4 separate regions of the Homo sapiens genome follow, and all the other regions are linked to region 1. The links are contacts of gene promoters, found by promoter capture Hi-C in human tissues and cell types (Jung and others, 2019). All regions are on one chromosome and are shown on one strand. Each heading gives the region's core, a stretch centred on a gene start or on the middle of the fragment in contact. The rest is flanking DNA. Distances are from core to core; before and after follow the strand shown.

The links. Contacts are between HindIII fragments. The study calls those that stand out against the background at their distance.
Region 2: a fragment that was not itself captured here is called in contact with the fragment with the promoter of MRPS28 in region 1 in 2 of the 25 tissues and cell types used here (adrenal gland and dorsolateral prefrontal cortex).
Region 3: a contact is called between a fragment that was not itself captured here and the fragment with the promoter of MRPS28 in region 1, in 2 of the 25 tissues and cell types used here (adrenal gland and hippocampus).
Region 4: a contact is called between a fragment that was not itself captured here and the fragment with the promoter of MRPS28 in region 1, in 1 of the 25 tissues and cell types used here (H1 embryonic stem cells).

What each region holds. Positions count from the first base shown.
Region 1 is chr8:80,028,496-80,031,888 of GRCh38, reverse strand. MRPS28 (mitochondrial ribosomal protein S28) reads left to right here and starts at 1,630. Exons shown (of 3, transcript NM_014018.3): 1 at 1,630-1,853. The coding sequence starts at 1,641. The region is part of intron 5 of TPD52-MRPS28 (TPD52-MRPS28 readthrough); the gene reads left to right. It also overlaps a transcript of TPD52 not described here. RefSeq lists an enhancer at 1,478-1,907. The HindIII fragment of the contact is 9,025 bases long and covers 1-3,393 here.
Region 2 is chr8:79,828,568-79,831,960 of GRCh38, reverse strand. All of the region lies in intron 2 of LOC101927040 (a long non-coding RNA gene), which reads left to right. Among named protein-coding and RNA genes, the nearest start is that of LINC01607, 62 kb to the right of the region's middle. The HindIII fragment of the contact is 3,269 bases long and covers 1-3,206 here.
Region 3 is chr8:79,870,767-79,874,159 of GRCh38, reverse strand. It overlaps LOC101927040 (a long non-coding RNA gene), which reads left to right and starts at 2,423. Exons shown (of 6, transcript NR_110954.1): 1 at 2,423-2,591. The HindIII fragment of the contact is 9,505 bases long and covers 1-3,393 here.
Region 4 is chr8:79,887,199-79,890,591 of GRCh38, reverse strand. No RefSeq gene overlaps it. Among named protein-coding and RNA genes, the nearest start is that of LINC01607, 120 kb to the right of the region's middle. The HindIII fragment of the contact is 7,138 bases long and covers 1-3,393 here.

The sequences.
Region 1 (3,393 bases), core at 381-2,880:
GAGCCACCACGCCAGGGGTGTGTTTTTACGGATACTTGAGTTTTGCACTTTTCACCCATGCTGGAGTGAAGTGGCAGGAACATAGCTCACTGCAGCCTCAAACTCCTGGGCTCAAGTGATCCTCCTCCATCAGCCTCCCAAGTAGCCGGGACTACAGGCATGCACCACTGCCCCAGGCTGATTTTTCTATTTTTTGGTAGAGACTGGTTCTTGCTATGGCCCAAGCTGGTCTCGGACTCCTCATCTCAAGCAATCCTCCCTCCTCAACCTCACAAAGTGCTGGGATTACAAGTGTAAGCCACCCTGCCCAGTCAGACTGAGGGTTCTTGAAGACCACTGGCCATGCTCTTTACAATTTACCACACTTTCTCCTGAAAAAAAGTGGAAGTAGCACTATCCGTAGAAAATAATGTTCTAGGCAAGAGTCCATTAATAGTCTCGGGAGATAAACAGTTTTAACTGCCAAGAGGGAGAACTCACCTGGAGAATTTAATGAATTTGTAAGGACTACCATACAGTTAGCTAGTAATAATTTTATGTGATTCATACAATTGTGCACCATTCTGAGATCAGTGTACTTCGTGTTCTTAACACTATCTGTACCATTAGAGAGCATCAGAAAAGCTTAAAACCCATAGTCAAGGCATTCTTAAAATAGGGTCTGTGATCATAAAAATTCTTTCTCTCGAAGTACTTGCAAATGAACTGGAAAGGTGTGTGCCCCCAAAATAAAACTAACTGTGGATTAATATTAAACTGCTGGGTCAAAGATAGACGGACAACTAATTAATAAACACTTAAGAATGATGTTAGGCTGTTTTGAACAGGGTGGGTAAATTTTGGGAATTAACACTGCAGGAGAAAAGGGAAAGAAAATCCAGAGTGAGGGTGGGGGCCTACGGCGGTGCAATACTTAGGGACATTCCAAAACTTCTGAACTCCTAAGTTAGATAATAGGTATCTAGAGGTGTCAAAACATTTCAGAAAAACTATTTTTGTGGCGTGAGTGGACTGGCTGCAGAAGTGGCAAAGGACAAACTTGGATGCAGGGTTTGGCAAATGTTGGGTGAGCCCTAATCTGTGCCTGGTGCTAGGGACCCTACAGCAAAGTTCCTCTTTTCAAAGTTTAAAAAGTTGGGAGTAGACACTAAATATTATTAAATATTTAATATTAATATGTGGCATATTAGAAAGTGCTACATGGTACTAAGAAAAACAGGTGCCAGAGAGTCTGCATTTGGGCTTCCACTTCTAAATAGGGTAATCAAGGAGACCCTCATATTTGAGTGAAGACCCCAAACTCGAGTGCTGGCGGCCATGTAGGGGGGACGGCAGGGCGGGAGAACGAGCGTCGCGTTAGCAGAATTTACAGTACAATGGGGTCCAACGGATGCCCAGGAAGGCGAAATTCCTGCAAGTTAAACGCACTTCTAACGCAAAACTTAACCAGGCCCCTTTCCAACTATTTAGCCCACCAATTTTAGCTTAAGTCTCTTCTTCCCCACGCCACTCCCAGATGAAAGGAAGACACGCCTCGTTGGCCTCCAGAGCTCTGCGTCCGGGGGGCGGACCTCTCATAGCTCCGCCCCGTGACCCGCGCGCTTGCGGAGGGGAGGTCAAAGGTCAGAGGTAAAGAAGTCATGGCGGCGCTGTGTCGGACCCGTGCTGTGGCTGCCGAGAGCCATTTTCTGCGAGTGTTTCTCTTCTTCAGGCCCTTTCGGGGTGTAGGCACTGAGAGTGGATCCGAAAGTGGTAGTTCCAATGCCAAGGAGCCTAAGACGCGCGCAGGCGGTTTCGCGAGCGCGTTGGAGCGGCACTCGGAGCTTCTACAGAAGGTGGAGCCCCTACAGAAGGTGGAGCCCGGGCGGGTGAGAGGGAGTCGCGGGAATTACGCCAACGACGCGGTGGGCGGGGTCGGGAATAGGGGCGGAGCCTGGCTTAGGAAGGGGAGCTGAGGTCCGGGGCCCAGTTTTCCGGAGTTGCGGTGCGTTGTGGCTCAGCCCTCGGCCCCTAGAATCTGTGCTTGGTGTTTTTCTTCCTTTCGTTGTCCTTTTGTGTGGCATTTGCGTACTGGGCCGGGTCTGTCCACACTGCGCTTGTTTTCCTGGGATTGAATGCTGGTGGGAAGGTAACCAGCGGGGAGCGCTGCTGGGGAGGCGATCTAGGGCGATTCCTGGGACGCTAAGGAGAATGGGACTCACACGGAGAGGCAGGGCTCTGCTGGGTCTTGTTCTGAACAGTAGCTCTAGCATGGAGCTTGCTGTCTGGAGTAGAAGGCCCTTCATAAACATTTGTTAATTTAATGACTGGGTGATGAATCACTTTCTGAACTTGGGCAAGTGATTTAACTTGTCAGCGCTTCACCTCTCTTTTGTAAATGTCTTCTTTTTTTAAAAAGTAAAGTAAAATCTCCGTTTGTCTCAGCCAGTACTTTTGTAAAATACCATAAATTTATAGATAAATGAAATGGAAGAAATAAAATTACAAGCCTAAGTTTTTAATAATTAAACTCAGCAGACATGAAATTGAATTATATACAAATAAACTCTCAATTTCTGTATTTTTCTTCCTAGGGAGTAGTACCAAACAGTTCACAAGACTGGCAGTGTCCTGGGTTATAGGGTCATTTTAGTAGCAATTACTGATGTCAAAATTTTTCTGAAATCCAAGGACTAGAAGAAGCCTGGTATATTAGTTTATTATTTTCTGTTGTAACAAATTACTACAAATTTAGTGGCGTAAAACACAGGAAATGTGTTGTTGTTAGGGTTGTGAGAAGTCAGACGGGATCTCACTGGTCTAAAATCAAGGTGTTGGTGAAGTTGTGTTCTTTTCCGTAGCTTCTAGGAGAATCTCTTCCTGGCCTGTCTTTTCTGCCTCTGTTTTCTACTTTTTTGTTTTTTGGATTTTTTTGTTTGTTTTGTTGTTTTTTGAGACAGGGTCTCGCTCTGTCACCCACGCTGGAGTGTGGTGGCATGATCTCAGTTCACTGCTAAACCCCCTGGGCTCAAGTGATCCTCCTGCTTCATAGCTGGGACCGCAGGTGTGCACCACCACTCTGGGCTAATTGTTTTTTCTGTTTTTTTTTGTAGAGATGGGGTTTTGCCATGTTGCCCAGGCTGGTCTTGAACTCCTGGGTTCAAGTGATCCTCCTGCGTTGGCCTCCCAAAGTGCTGGGATTACAGATGACAGATGTGAGCCACCTGGCCTGGCTGACCCCGCCCGGCCCCGCCCCCCCCGCCCGTCTTCTGCTTTTGAGATCCCTGTGATTACATTGGCCTCCCTAGATAATCTATTTTAAGATCAGCTGATTAGCAATCTTAATTCCACCTGCAAAGTTAATTCTCCTTTGCCACGGAAGGTAACATATTCACAAATTCTAGAGATTAGGAT
Region 2 (3,393 bases), core at 323-2,822, 200 kb after region 1:
GCATCCCCTTTTCTCCCCTCTTGTTCCTGCCCTGGCCCATTTGCAGTTCAGGTGATCGACCCTCTCAGAAAATGCTCCCTGTGAAGCCAAAATGTGAGTGAGTTAGACTGGGCCATTTCCAGCACGCCCCTCGTCACCCCGTGCCTGTGCAGTGTCACCTACTTCTGATAACAGCCTTGGACTGAGGGCGCAGGAGAGAGTGGTTTTATGCCACAGATACTTCATTCGTCAATGCTGTCTTCCAAATCTTTCTCCTCATGTCCATTATCACAGGCCTAGAACAATTGTTTTTATTAGACAGTTTAATACATTGCCTCTTAGACCAGCAGGCGAACCCGAGCATCTTTCTGACTCCTGTGCTGTCATTAACATGCTTCTTAATTCAGAACAGCTGTTCCTCCTCCCACTCCTCCTCTCTCCCAATCTTTGCTCCTTAGACAAACTTTGCTTATTCAGAAACTTTGGGAAAAAAGATTTTTGAGTAAATGAGAGTTCTGGAAACATAAGGATTTGTCTCTTTCAGCATGGACTTTTTAATTTTAAACATTTTTGATGAAAATCTTTCCAAAATACATTGTTTAGTACCTTCTTAAACAGAGAAAATGGATGAAATTTAATTTTTTTCTTGATGCCTTGGGATCATGACAGTGAACAAGATTTTGTTACTCTGCTGCAATGCAATAGGGCACATAAAGGGTCCCAAATTTTCAGATTCTGAAGTTATTTTGAAAACTTTTAAATATACTCTCGTCTCCCTGCTTTTCATCAGTCCATTGACCAATCACTCTGGTTATCAATGCACCTATTTCCAGAAATTCTTCTACCCTAATTTTCTGATGTTCAGTGTTTACTGTGAGCATAGAAGACCAATATAGACACACACTTACACGTGTGTGCATGCAGATGTGCATTAGAACTGTGTGTAGAGAGGTTTGAGGAGGTACCTGAGAGTTTCCTATGAGTAAATGGAATATGTTATGAGTTCTCTGTTTTGGTTTTCCAGAGACTGCTTTTGTTAAATTTTTTGCTCATTTTAGGAATAGAAAGTTGCAAGACAAATGAGTTTAATAATGATGAAAAGCTCCCAGATTTCTAGGAGCTATCTATCTTTCTAGAAAGTTCTTCCTCGGTTCATTTTTTTTTTTTTTTTCACTTAATGCAAGTATAGGCAATGGTTACTAAAAGGAGATTCCTTTTATGAGAGGCTTGTCATTTCATTATCCCAACTTCACATACAAATGATTTCATTATCTTTAAAAATGTTGTCGTGATATTCTCAAACTATTGTCATTTAAAAAAAAAACCCACCAGGTGCAAAAACAAACTGCAACCACAACAGCTAAATCTGTCTCTTTCTCTCATTGTCCTCTTTGGCAAAGATCTGTGGAAAGCTGAATAAATGAACAGGGCCATTTGACAGAGTGTAACCCACACCAGACCTGTTGTGCAATGCCTTGAACGTAAGTCCTTTTCAACTAAACGGAGGTATATTTTCTTTTATATTGTTGACTTTGACCCTGAAGCTTAGCAAAGAACACTTGTGCAACATTTTCTGGATCAATTTATCATCTGCTCAGAGCAGACATGCATTTTTTCTCATCATTAAAGGGAAACCAAACCCATCAACATAATCCCCGATTCTGCTTTGTTTCTTCCCAGTCCTTCACATTGTAGATTCTGAAATATTAATGAAGAGATGTGAAAGTAATGTGCTCTATTCTCACACCCAGCCCCAGTGGGAGGAAGGATATGGCCAGGGAGTAGGAGAATGAGAAATGTCCTCGTTTTGCAAAACAACGTTGCTCAAAGTCAGGTTGTTGGATTCTATCTCTGAATATCCCAAGGTGGTGATCTAAAATCCAGATTTCTGGGCTAATCTATACCTATGGAATCAATATTTCTGGAGGATGAGGCTTTGTCATTTACATTTTAAATGGATGCATTTAAAACTGATTGGACTAGATGGTGTCCGAGCTTTTTCCTTACTTAACAAATCCTATGCTGCTGGCTCTTATGTGAATACTGATAATAAACTGCTTACAGGCTGGGCATCATGGATCATGCCTGTAATCCCAGCTATTTGGGAGGCCAAGGCAGGAGGATCGCTTGAGCTCAGGAGGTTGAGACCAGCTTGGGCAACATAGTGAGAACCTGTTTCTATGTAAAAAAATTAAATTTAAAAATGTACTTACAGAATACTCATAATGAACTTTATTATTGTAAGAATAATAACTTTTGACTGTATAGCAGCATTTTTAACTTTTCAAAGTGTTTTCCTATTTTCCTATATATAACCCCCCAGAGGGGGGCAGGGGAGGTCTCATTACCTCCATTTTAGAGATGTAATAAAGTCCCCGAAGCTTAATGACTTGTGCCAACTACATCATAACTTAGTGGTCAGGAGTCAGGACTGGCACACAGGTCTTCTGACCTCATTTCACTGTACATTTGGTGTTCTAAGATCCAAGACACAAGAGGATGCTTTATTAAAGTGTCCTTTAAAAACGGACTTGAGCCGAAATCAGCGCCTTCCAAGCTTCTCCACATGCTGTTGAGTGTGCTGTGCATTTGCTCCTGAGAGACGAAAGCACAGATAAAGATGCCCTGCACACTGGGAGAGAAATGGGAATCTTCAAAACAAAGGAATCTCATTCCTCTTCTGTTCATCCCCTTCAATTTTCTGATCCTTTCCCTCCACTCCCTCTTTCTTGTAAAGACTTAAACTCTGAAATAATTATATGAAATTAAGTCGGTAAAAGCCAGGCTCGTTTCCTTAAGATTGATGTGTTAACATTTGGGGCAGTTTTCTCAGGACTCAGGGAGACGATTATTTCTGAGGTTGGCTGCGGGAAGCTTCCTCTTCTCTAGGGAGGGGTGAGGTTCCCTCCCAGGACACCTCCCTCCGTGACACAGCCTAACTGTTAGCAGAAGTTCATAAAAAAAGTTGGTTGATTTTTTTAAGTGCTGGAGACTTTTCTCCTTTTAATTCCGGTCATAACTACCCACTGTCCAAAAAAAGGAGACACAGCAGGCTCTAAACTCTCTCTGAGACTGAATGCAAATTGAGTGTCTGGGAGTCTGAGGGAGGTGCGGGAAACACTTTCCAGCTCCACTGTCCTGTTTTTATCTGTAGATCAAGATAAGCGAGCGGGTGGATTGTTAGCAAAAAGGAATCTCTTCATGCAAATTATAATTCTCTTAAAAAAAAATAAGCATGAAGGTGTGACCCTGCCTGTCACTTATCAATCTGTGCAGTAAAACTAATGGAAGGTTGGAAGACTGGGATCCTTTGCATTGGAAAATGGCTTGAGTGCCCGTGCTGAAGCCACGCTGAATTTCCCGTGTTCCTGCAGCAGCCTGGGAGGAGACCGGCAGGGTCACATTCTGGTGGTG
Region 3 (3,393 bases), core at 264-2,763, 160 kb after region 1:
GGACAATTTAGAAGGTATATTGCTTTAAGGTAAAATCTTAACTGTATATTTACTTATACAGCTAGTGTTTGTGCTGTTGTTTTTATCAGTATATTGACAGAAACCGTTGAATCTGAAGGAAAAAAAGTGAAAACAAAACAAGACATGTTTGATGCTGTGGGAAGAAAGTATTAGAAGTGAAACCTAATCGTTCATGACATAGAAGGCATAAACGAAGCAGCAAACTGAGGAACTGGGGGAATTGGGGAAAAGGTGAGCACTATGTGCATTCTCACTGATCTGGCTTTTCCATGGTTCAGGGTGTCTAATAAAATGAATACATGCTCAGAATGCTGCCCCCCTGCCTTTCTTTCTTGGGTCCATAAATGACTCTAGTGAGGTGGGAGGTAGGCTCTTCATTGTTTCTACTTGGAGCCACTGACTTTAAAGTTTTAATAAAAAAAAAAATAGAGCACAAAGACATTTTCAAGAGAAGCCTTATGTTGCTTCTGAAAGCATTACAGTATAATCAAGAGTTTGCCTCCTTGAGTTCTTTGTAAGTTTGGTTGCCTAGAGAAACAGCCTGGCGGCCTCCAGGGTCATCACTGTGAACAAACAGCAGCTCCAGTGGGATGGCTCACACCTCTTAATCACTTCCAGCGCCAAGAGCGCAGGAGTCAAGTGCACGGGAAGAAAAGAGCCAACCTGGTCAAACTAGTTTGACTTTTAAAATGAACCTGAATCATACGTTTCTGTTCACTTTGAAAATAGTTCTGGACTATCATTTAAATGCCACCTTACACTGAGGCAAGTCTTCTGAACTACCAGATGTTTAAAAAAAAATAGATCAGATTCTGGTTCTGAATTTTTTCAGCAGCAATCACAAGAGTTGAATTTTTATTCATTTGTCTGCTCATTCATTCATTCATTCATTTATTCATCTATTCATCACTCAACAGGCATTCATTGTGCTAAATTCCTTGTGCTAAATTCTGCTTGGTGAATATTTGCAATCTTCGTATTATTGTTCAAGTGATTGCCCGTTTTTTGAAAAATAACAAACAGAAAGAAGATTATGAAGGCCAGGCACGGTGGCTCACGCCTGTAATCCCAGCACTTTGGGAGGGTGAGGCAGTTGGATCACCTGAGGTCAGGAGTTCAAGACCAGCCTGGCCAACATGGTGAAACCCCGTCTCTACTAAAAATAAAAAAAAATTAGCTGGGCATAGTGGCAGATGCCTGTAAACCCAGCTATGAGGCAGGAGAATTGTTTTAACCCCGGAGGCAGAAGTTGCAGTGAGCCGGGACCGTGCCACTGTACTCCAGCCTGGGTGACAGAGACCCTGTCTAAAAAAAAAAAAAAAAAAAAAGATTATGACTTTGCATAGAATTCAGTTGGGGGATGGAGAGGAGACAGAGTGGTTAGGATATTTTAACTATAAAATATATAGGGCCGGATACGGTGGTTCACGCCTGTAATCCCAACACTTTGGGAGGCTGAGGCGAGTGGATTGCTTGGGCTCAGGAGTTTGAAACCAGCTTGAGCAACATGCCAAAACCCCATCTCTACAAAAAATACCAAAAATTAGCTGGGTGTGGTGACCCATGTCTGCAGTCCCAGCTACTTGGAGGCTGAGGTGGGAGAGTGGCTTGAGCCCAGCAGGCATAGCTTGCAGTGAGCCAAGATCATGCCACTGCACTTCAGCCTCGATGACAGAGCCAGACTCTGTGTCAAAAAAAGAAAAAAAAAAGTGTGTGTGTGAATATATATATATATATATGGCAGAATATGATTATTCTTATGGTTCTGTTTCAATGGTACATTACCTTGGAATATTAGTCCCTAGGTTTTGATGATATATTTGCTTTTATAACTCATCAGTATTTTTTCACTGTGTAGATCAGTACCTTTTGGGTGGTTTTGAGTACATTATAATATTGTAGTTTACTTTTTGTGATGTACTGAGTATTTGAGGGTACTGCAAGGTGAGTATTTGCAGATACTACCTTTTTTAGTTTAAATATTAATAATATCCCCAGTTTCATAAGCTGGTTATGAATGTAAGACTGACTGATAAACAGATCTGACTTTTTCTGGAGGGGGCCTGGGCAGGAGCGGTATTAAAACTTTCTGCAAAATTTCTCCTAAGTTTCACCAAATAACAGAAAGCTGTGTCTGTTGGTCAGCATTACTAGTTTGTGGAAGTTGGGTCAGCATTACTGGTTTGTGGAAGTGGCTTTACCCTCTCATATTTGCTCATAGTCATTTTCCAAAATACTTCTAGGTTTCTAGTTAAAGTACTGTTGCCATGCCAGGCCCCTGAATTATGGCGGACATCTGAGGCCAGGACCAGGAACTGCCAAGGCTAGACTGGGAATGGAACAAAAGGAGAGCCAGACCCGGGAGCTGGCAGGACCGGGGATTGCTTAGAAACTAGCGGTTAAAGATGGAGTCTAGGGAACAGTCGAGAGTCACGCAAATGTTAGAGGTGCCCTTGGCCTCATGAGTGGTCGGTAGAAGGCGGCTGCAAGGAGCCTTTGAAATGGTGCCGAGTTCTTCCTCTGCCAGAAAGCCTTTCCTCCGCGCTGACTGTGTCAAAGGCTACTCCCAGGTGTGCTGAGCAGGGGAGCCGTGTGGGGGGATGGCCATCGAGTTAACCTCTAGAGAGGGGACGTGTGGGCTGCACAGGATTCTGGGGGGCTGACCTAGGAGGGGCAGCAGTGCAAGTCCTCTTACTCCTGGTCCTGTGCTCCTTTTAATACGCCACGCTGCTGCTGCCTCTGATCCGGAAAGCTTTTCTGATACAATGGCGGCTCCTCGTCTTCTTCCATCTCTAAGGAGATTAGTTAGTTACAAGGCAGGAAGTTGAATAGCGTCAGGCTTTAATCTCCTGGTTATTCTGAGGTTGTTTGATGTTAGCTCTTCCTTCAGACCAGGGCTTTGAAAGGGCTTATTTTTTTTCTGTGACAGAGAAATGACCAGGACACAGCCATATATTAAATTCCAAGGGCCCTCACATCTATTTGCTTTGTGTATTTTGTGTACAAATATACATGATGATTTTTAGAGAATATTGCTCTCTTTTTTCTCTCTCTCTTTAATGCATTTGTTTCTTGCTCCTGTTTCCTCTTAGCTCATTTTTATTCCATTAGGTTGTAGCTGGGCTGATTCTCTGAGTGTGCCTTCTCAGCCTGTGGGGTGAATACAGGATTAAGAACACAGACAGAGCCTGACAGCCACGTTAATTGTTTACTTACTTACTATTTAACACATAATATCAGGCTTGTTTCTCTGTTTCCTAGCAGCTGGAGTGAGATATCCTCCTGCTCCACCGTAAAACCTTCTGCTGCAGCCTAAGTTGACATATCCAGCCTGAATTTTAGATTCTTACAAAACAAGTTCAAATTTAATGT
Region 4 (3,393 bases), core at 399-2,898, 140 kb after region 1:
GCTGGGAAACCCCTAATGCTTGACAGATGAAAGCACTGTCTTCTTTCAACTCTGTATTTCACATTTTTCTATCTGTGCTACATTAACTTTCTGAAGTTTTCTCTGAATAATCAAAAGAAGCAAAATGAAATTCAAGAGGTTGTTGTTGTTGTTGTTGTTTGCTTTTTTGCTTTTTTGCCTGCTTGCCCACATCCACATGTCTATCTTTGGAAAATTGTAAGGGACTTGAGCAAAATTTAATGTAAGAAATAAATAATTGCAGTGAATGAAACTAATAGTTCACATGACACTACCTTATGCCTTGTGGACAACAAGAAGTTAACCAATTCTCTCTGTCCAATGCTGAAAGTTTAGTGTGGAGCTGGGTACAATGAGAACCTCTGATCCAGATGCCACTCCACTCAGCCTGGGAGAGTCACGGAAGGGCATTTAGAAGTTCCCCTGCTTTCAGCCGTCCTCCCACTCCTGTAACCTGGGGTCCTCCCACCCACCCACAGCCCCAAATCTCTCACATCAGAATGGCCAAGGGTAAGGCAGAAACATCTGAGCTGATAATGCCTTTAGCATACTACCCTGCAGAGGCCTATGTGGCTCATGCTTGCGTTAAAACAAAATATATAGCCTGATAAATCTGTTAATTGTAGATACTGCTTCACTTCTAACAAAAAACTTTGTGTACTAAAGATTTAGGCTAAAAGAGCTGTTGATTTTTATGCGGGATTTTACTCTCCTAAAAATCAAGTAAATCAACTTAATGCCTTTTATGTATCAGGTGGAATTATAGACACCAGACAAGAAACATCCATCTATCTCCTTTCATTTTGTTACATATTCTCAAGGGGCCACATGATTGGCAGTAACTTTCTTTTTATAAATTCTAAACTGGGTTTCTACCGCCAAATCCCAGGTGGTAGAAGAAGGCATCCTGAGGCATCCAGGCCATTAGGGCAACTGAAAAAACTCTGCCTTCTCTTTCTAGAAGGCTTCCCTCAGTCCTTCCATTTATAAAAAATCATTTAGAGACATCACTAAATATATTATCATTATAACATTTGATTTACCAAAAAAAATACTCAATTAAAAATTCAGTTAAGTTCAAGTCCTATAGATCATGATGAGTTTACTGAATTGATCAGAGAAGTTAAAAGATGAAACTTCTGTATCTGGTTCTACCCCTCGTGTTGCTGGCCTTCAATAAGTCACTTGACTTGTCCGTTCCCATTAATAAAAACAGGAAAGCAGGACCTGTCATAAAACTGCCTGGGAAGTGATGAGAACTAAATACTTTTTTTGTGCGTTTTTTTTAATAAGGAAATGCTCTGGTGAGGTAACACTTGACTCAAACAATGACTCCCAGCGTTAACTCTCGGATACACAACTATCAGATTAGAAAGCATTTTTTAAAAAAGACTTATATGGCCATGCACTGAAGGTCATATACCTTGTTATTAGGAGATTCCCACAGACACCCACAGTTGCTTTTTCTTGAAGCACAATCCTAATAGTATTGGTTTGTTGTCATTTTTTTAAAATCCACCTCACAATAGACCATTAGAATGGAAAAGATAGAATACTCACTGTAACTGATAACCTGAAGAGAGTTTCAGACTTCAGAAAAGAAGTGCCAAGTAATTTAAAAAACAAATAGGTTCATATGGAGTCGTTGCATGTGTGAGCAAACTTCCCTTTCCAAGCCAGGCACGGTGGCTCATGCCTGTAATTGTAGCACTTTGGGAGGCTGAGGTGGGCAGATCACTTGAGCTCAGGAGTTCCAGACCAGCCCGGGCAACACGGCGAAACCCTGACTCTGCTAAAAATACAAAAATTGCCCAGCTACTCCGGAGGCTGAGGCATGAAAATCCCTTGAGCCTGGGAGTGCAGTGGTTGCAGTGAGCCAAGATTGCACCACTGCACTTCCAGCCTGGGCAACAGAGCGATACTCTGTCTCGAAACAACACCACCACCACCACCAAACCTTTCCTTTTCAGCACAAAAGGCCATTAATATTTTCCATATAAATGACAATAATTATGAACTTTAATCCTGAAGACAAGGTGAAATTACACTTATTGCACCATTTAGAAAGGCAAGCAAGTATAAGGATTATAAGGATTTTGATTTAAAATAGATTTTAGCACTTAAGGGAATAAGCTTTAGTTAGTTGTGAAATAGATAAGTAGAATTCTTCATTCCTCAAGAATGTTAGGTAAATGAAGCATTTTAGTAGAAAAATTAACAGCAGCTTAGTTTTACGTGTTACTCCAATGGATGCGCTTCAGTTAAACCTCAGACTATAAGGGGTGGTTGGCTCTGTGCTGATTGCAGGAAAGACTATCATTCAGTTTACATCCTCTTTCCCTCGGATTTTCCATCCAAGAAGAGTTGAGGCCTGGTTTTGCTTAGTTGTGAGATCCCAATCCAGAGGAGGCTGGCTAAAGACCATTCGGCATGTTAGATTTGGGTCAAATTCTCTGTGTATGTCATGAAGAATTGGGAGGCAGTTTGATAAAATTACAGAAAATATCTGGGAAAGGCAAATTCAGAATTGATCACAAGGATTACATGGAAAATTACACTAGAGGTGCACAGGGCACGTCAGACCACTGTTGGTCATGGTCCAACAAATATGAACAAAAGAATATCTGGGTTTCTCTAGAGAACACAAAAATAAGGAAACAAGATCAAAAGAACTTGGTTATTCCTGAGACATACAAAAAGGAAAAGAATTTATGTAAATGGAAATAGAGCATCAGAAATGAAATTCCAAGATTAAGATTTCATTTGTCTTAGCTCAATTGCAAGGATAACTGGTAGATGTTTCCAAAATTGATTCTAATATTTGAATTTGCAAAATCCTGGAAATTTCTAAAATCTGAGCTCTCATTAAAAAATTTTAAAAGCTCTTATCTTTCCCTGGAGTAATAATTATAAAGCTACATTAATAGATTTGACAGTGCCAAGACTTTCCTTGCTTTAAGAAAGGATGATGCATATCACAATATAAAATCACTTGAAAAAAAGAACTGTGTGCTTTCCCTGTATTATTTGATGTCTATTTCAAAACACATTCAAAATATCTCCTTTCTTCAGTAACTATGGTTGAGTCTATTTCTCTGCATTGCTATTTAGGGGTGTCACATTTGTTGAGCACTAGCGCTGTTCTAGGTGCTTACCTAAGTTATCTCAGTTAATATTCACAGCAATCCAATGAGGAAGGCATTTATTATCTTCTTTTTCTAGACAAGGAAGCTAAAAGCTTAAAGTGATAAGGTAACTTGCCCTTAGACACACAAGTAATGAAAATGATGGAATTAGTCTTCAAACCCAGTCTGTGTTTTTCTAAAGCAGGTGCCCCTCCCATATGACTTCCCAAAGGAATGAGATTCCATTTGC